2 separate regions of the Homo sapiens genome follow, and region 1 is linked to region 2. Evidence: promoter capture Hi-C in 16 types of primary human blood cells and fetal thymus (Javierre and others, 2016). All regions are on one chromosome and are shown on one strand. The core of a region is centred on a gene start or on the middle of the fragment in contact, and the rest is flanking DNA. Distances in the headings are between cores, read along the strand shown.

Region 1 (3,073 bases), core at 371-2,870, 480 kb before region 2:
TAGCCTCTGGGGAAAGGCAAGTCCAGCTGACCTTGGTGAAGTTAGGACCCGGGCCGAGGCCACCTCTTCTGGTTCACCCTCTGCTGGCCTCCCAGCTTCTTTGGCTCAGCAACACCCAGGATTCCAGGCATGTTTGCCTCTGGCCTTCTAAAAATACCCAGGCCACCCAGCACCTCCCAGATGTCTGAGCGCTGAGTCTGTGATTTCCCTGCCGGTAATGGGACAGCCCCGGGGTGGGCAGGCGGGGGTGGCTCGAGCAGCTCAAGCCACTTCCTCTGCCTCCCATCCCCTAGCCTACCAGAAGCTGGACCCAGCCCTGCCTCCCAATCCTTGCAAGGCAAAGGAGGGTAGAGGCTAGCAGACCTCAGAGATTGTTGACTCCAGTCTCTTCTTGGGACAGATGGGAGATCTGAAGTCTAAGGATTGCTCATGGCACTTGTGCCATTAAGGTCCTCCTCACCCCACTCCCCAGCACTGTGTTCATGCCTGCTGCTGTCTCACTTCCCACATGCTACTTGGAGTCTAGGTCTTGGAGCCCAACCTGACTTCCTCCATGCAGCTGAAAGCTCCTGACAGCAGTGAAGGGGAGGATCCCTGTGGTCTCCATGGTGCCTGGAAGAGTGTCCAATCCAGAGCACACCATCAGTAAACGTAGATTGGATTGAACAATGTAGTGGCAGCTGGGGCAATGGGTGGAGCACTGGGCTGGAGGACAAAGCCTCTGAATTCTATCTAGCCCAGGGTCAGCCACTGTGATACTATGCATCCTCATCAATTGCCCTGGACAAACCTGTTTCTCCTGGGCTGGATAGGATGGTGTCTAAGGACTGAGCCAGCTCTGCTGATATGAAGCTGCAAGCTGATGCCCTGCTGGATATTCCTGTCCCTTCTCTGCTCTACTGTATGTCTGGGAGAGATGGCACAACCTGTAGGTTCCATCAGCTCCAGGTTCTCAGCTTCTGCTCCTCCCTCCGTGCTTCTGAACATTCCACCTCTGGTCCTAGCCCCTGAGGCCCAGCTCTTCCAATAGTGCCACTTCCACCTCTGCTGCTGGGTACACAGGGGTGAATGCATACCTACCTCGCTCACTAATCATGTGACCTTGGGTAAGGCATTGCCCTTTTCTGGGCTTCAGTTTTATCATATCTAAAAGGGAATAATAAGGCCTACCTTAAAGGAGTGCTATGAGGATGTAGGAGATTCCATAGCTCAGATGTCAGGTTATATATCACCTCCTGCAGAAAGTCTCCCCTGTCCTCCCAAGGATGGCTCAGATAGCATTTGTTGCTGGCTCTTCAGTTCTGACCTTCCCATGTTCACACTATGTGGTCATTGGCTCTCTATGCATCCATCCCCCACCAAGCTGTGGGCTCCTCAAGGCCAGGAGTCTCCAGGACCCAGTACAGGACCTTTACAGATGAAGTGCCTGGGAACGTTTTTTGACAGACACAGTGGGTGAGTAAAGCCTGAGAGAAAGGCAAGGGGTTGTGCAGAAGTCTGGGAGTCTGAGTAAGAAGTGGCCTGACTGACAGGGCAAGTTCTGGTGGTATGAATATTGACAGCTGCTTGGAGCCCTTCCCCCATTTCCCTGCTTGGTAAATTCATCCTTCAAGATCCCAGGAGAGCATCTCCTTCCCTGAGAAACCTGATCACTCTCCCCTCTACCACATTACACACTCCACTGTAGGTGTTCTTTACACACCTGTCTCCCTTCTCAGATGTGAGTTCCCTGAAGGCAAGACCCTGTTGGATCTCACAGCACCAAGCACTAGATCTGGCATGAGTTAGTCAAGGTTTTGGAGCAGAAGAATGGATGGAGGAAATAATTTCTGAATCGAACTTGGAATTGAACTGCCTGAACTTTAATGCCCTTTCCAGCCTTAGGGATGATAATGAATTACCAAAGTGAGAAAAATGGAGGCGCAAGCTGTTGTCATCCTTCCAGAGGCACCCTCCAAGTGTGTGTGGGTGAAATGTGAGCTGGAGAGAGGATTGACAAAGAGCAGTGAAAACATATTCCTGGACCCCATTCTTTTTTTTTTTTTTTTTTTTTTTGAGATGGAATTTCCCTCTTGTCATCCAGGCTGAAGTGCAATAGCTCAATCTCGGCTCACTGCAACCTCCACCTCCCAGGTTCAAGCGATTCTCCTGCCTCAGCCTCCCGAGTAGCTGGGATTACAGACACACACCACCACGCCCAGCTATTTTTTGTATTTTTAGTAGAGATGGGGTTTCACCATGTTGGCCAGGCTGGTCTCGAACTCCTGACCTCAGGTGATCCACCTGCCTCGGCCTCCCAAAGTGCTGGGATTACAGGCATGAGCCACTGTGCCTGGCCTGAACCCCATTTTTATCTCTGGATTTTTCTCTCTGTTGAAGAATTGCTGCAGAAACCATATTCTAAGTATAAAAGGCCTTTAGATACCTAAGATGATCCCCAGAACCTTGATGTGAATCCATTTACTCATACTTTACATTCTCACTTTACACTTTGAGCATGAAGCCCATGGTGATCTGGTTGTAAAAGGTTTAAAGGTTAATTGGCAGCCAATGTTGGGGGTGAGAAGTTGCTGCTGCAGGCAGGCAGGTATTCACCAAGGCAGCAGAGAGAGGAGGCATCTGCCAGGCTGGTAGAAAGGAAATAGAAAAAGAAAACAGGCCGAGAGCGGAGGCTCAGGCCTGTAATCCCAGCACTATGGGAGGCCAAGGCGGGCGGATTGCTTGGTTGCAGTGAGCCAAGATCGTGCACTACACTACAGCCTGGGTGACAGGGCGAGACTCCATCTTAAAAAATCATAATAAATAAAATAAAAATACAAAAATTATCCAGGTGTGGTTGTGCATGCTGTCGTCCCAGCTACTCGGGGCGCTGAGGCAGGGGAATTGCTTGAACCTAGGAGGTGGAAGTTGCAGTAAGCTGAGGTCACACCCCTACACTCCAGGCTGGGTGACAGAGCGAGACTCCGTCAAAGAAAAGAAAAGAAAATAGAAGAGAAAAGAGAAGAAAGAAAATGGGCAAAAGCAACTAAAGGTACCACAGATCAAAACCTTTAAGATCAGCATTGGGTACACC
Region 2 (2,708 bases), core at 102-2,601:
CAGGGACTTCTCTGCTTGAAGCCTGTTGTGTGGCGGGGAGGTATTCTCCCCACAGCTCAGAGAGATGGGGTTGCTGTGGAGGGTTTGCTGTAGCTCCTCTACCCTGGAATATACCCTCTTCTGCCTTAAAAGACCCAGCTTGGACCCTCTCTTCCAGAAATGCTTGCTAACCGCCCCCCCACCACCCAAACTAGGTCAGGGGTCCCTCTGGGCTTCACAGACCCTGTGCTTCTTTCTGTCACAGCCTGCAAGTCTCCCCTCCCCACTCCCCAGCCCGAGTGCTTCTCTGAGACAAGGGATAGTGTGAGCCATGAGCTCAGCCACTGGTAGGCCAATGAATAAGTAAGTTAATGGTGAAGCCAGGATCCAAATCCCCATTTCCTGCCTCAAGGTGTGGAGCTGTTTCTCCTGCATACAATAGTAGCTCTGCTGTGACAACTCTCTATCTGTCCTAGGGCCTAAAATGCCTCTATTTCACTAGGTTATAGCTTTATCCTAGGGAGTCCTCTTTGGAAGCAGGGTGGGGGTGCAACAGGCCTTCCCCCATGCCTGTAGTCTGTGAGCAGCGAAGGCCATGTGGGGCAGGCTGTGGCCTAGGTCTCCACAGATCCTGGTAGAAGTCCATGCTCACGCATCAGCTCCAAGTCCCAGCTAAACCAAGCCACCAAGAGGTGGGCCCTGTGACAAGGCTCTGAGTCCAAAGGCCATCAGTAAAGCCCCCTAAGTCTTCCGTGGACCCAGCTCCAGGCTGGGATGCACGCTAGGAGATGATACACACCGGGTGAGGGAGCCCAGAGGAGAGGGCAGCTAGCTGTGCATGGAGGCCTGATCTCTCAGACTTGAGGGCACAAGCGTGTCCCCTCATCCTGAAGGCTTCTGCGATGGGGCAGCAGAGGGTCTGGGTCTGCTGCCCCTCAAGTCCCCAGCCCCATCCTAGCCCATGAGGATTGTAAATCCCTCGTCCTCTCCCCTCTCTCCTCTGTCAGCCACTCCCCTTTCCCCCTACCCCACTCTCTTTCTATTTCTGCCTCTGATTTTTTTTCCTTTTCTGCCTTTGTTCCTCTGTGTGTGTGTTTCTCTATGCCTCTCTGGTCTCTTTGTACTTCCATCTTGATCTCGCTAAGGCTCTGATCCCTCTCTCCTCTCCCTCTTCATGTGTTACTGTCCCCCTTCCTGTCTCTGTTTATCTCTCAGTCTCTCTGTCTGTGAGTCTTTTTTCCTCTCTCCCAGTCAGACTCTCTCTCTACCCCTCCCTCTCTCCCTCTCTCCCTCTCTGTCTGGGCCTCTCTCTGTTCCTCCTCCCTCCTCCCTCCCCCTTCTGCATTATCAGACCTGCTCCAACCTCCTCCCAGAGCCAGCCGAGCAGCAGAGGCAGTGGCAGCGGGAGAGGCGGGAGCAGCGGGGCAGCAGAGCTGGATTGGGGTGTTGAGTCCAGGCTGAGTAGGGGGCAGCCCACTGCTCTTGGTCCCTGTGCCTGCTGGGGGTGCCCTGCCCTGAACTCCAGGCAGCGGGGACAGGGCGAGGTGCCACCTTAGTCTGGCTGGGGAGGCGGACGATGAGGAGTGATGGGGCAGGCATGCGGCCACTCCATCCTCTGCAGGAGCCAGCAGTACCCGGCAGCGCGACCGGCTGAGCCGTGAGTATAGTGAGGGGCTGGGGTGGTGAGCGGCTGTGAGAGGTGCCACAGACAGGGTCCTGGGAGTCCCTCCAAGGAGCTGGGGTTGGCATGGAGCTGAGCCACGTGGAAGGATCGATCCTGTTCCTGGGCACCCCTCCTCCCCGCGTTGCCAGACTGCAGCCTGGGGTGGGGGCAGGTTACCTCTGAGCAGAATGAGGGTGTCTAACGTCAACCTAGTAGGTGATGAGGCTGGGGTCCCATGGAAGGGGCTGCTGGTTGGAGGAGGGGCTGATAATGAACCTGAACCGGTTCTTCAAGGGCTGAGGGTGTATGTGGGGAGGGGGAGGTCTGCCAAGTAGTTGGGAGGAGCTCTCGGGGCTGCAATAGGCTGGTTCAGGACCCGGAGAGGGAGAGTGTCTTGGCCCACCAAGGCTATGTGTGTGTGAAGGAGGTGGGGAGGGGGAAAGATGGAGAAAATATGAATAAGAGTGGCCCTGGAGCAAGAGAGGGTTAGAGGTAACCACCTTCCATGGAATTGGGAATTGGGGTTCAGGGACACCACTTTATGAAACTTTACCCCAAAGCGTCTGTCCCAGGATAGGGTTCTACGGAGCCAGATGGAATATGGTGCCAGCCTCGTGTGTGTCCACGTGCAGGGGGGTGCATGTGCAAGTGAGTGGGGGGCGCCGTGGCGACACCCCTCTACTAAGGGCTGCCGAGGTGGTAGGCAGGGTATGTGTGTGTGTGTGTGTGTGTATACATGTGGAATGTAAGGGACATGTTGGGTGTAGAGGGGCCTGTAGAGCTCTAGGGTCCTTGGTGGTTGGATGTAAAGCAGCCTGTCAGAGTTTGTGATCATCCCTGTGTGAGTGAGAGTTTATTCGCATGTGTCTGAGTGTGAGTGCAGGTTGGTCTGCATATGTATGTAGGTGTGTCTATTAGGTTGAGTTTGTATATTATGTGTGTTGTGTCTGCAAAATAGAGTGAATCAGTGTGCATTTTTTATCTGTTCCATGTGCATTTATGTGTGTGTATTTGTTAGTGTGTGAATAATAGCATTGCTGTGTGTGGAGGTGGATGTGGCTGTGTG

What was found. The method cuts DNA at HindIII sites, captures the fragments that hold promoters and counts their contacts. A CHiCAGO score of 5 or more calls a contact.
Region 1: a fragment that was not itself captured here is called in contact with the fragment with the promoter of PDE2A in region 2 in 1 of 17 cell types (neutrophils); the score reaches 6.1 in neutrophils.

The regions. Positions count from the first base shown.
Region 1 is chr11:73,154,766-73,157,838 of GRCh38, reverse strand. It overlaps IUR1 (imatinib upregulated ABL suppressing lncRNA 1), which reads left to right. Exons shown (of 4, transcript XR_950294.3): 4 at 1-2,059. Among named protein-coding and RNA genes, the nearest start is that of FCHSD2, 14 kb to the right of the region's middle. RefSeq lists enhancers at 1-172, 323-462, 473-522, 1,013-1,102. The HindIII fragment of the contact is 9,109 bases long and covers 1-3,073 here.
Region 2 is chr11:72,673,065-72,675,772 of GRCh38, reverse strand. PDE2A (phosphodiesterase 2A) reads left to right here and starts at 1,351. Exons shown (of 31, transcript NM_002599.5): 1 at 1,351-1,636. The coding sequence starts at 1,566. RefSeq lists enhancers at 1-127, 278-902, 903-1,529, 1,530-2,155, 2,156-2,708. The HindIII fragment of the contact is 6,386 bases long and covers 1-2,708 here.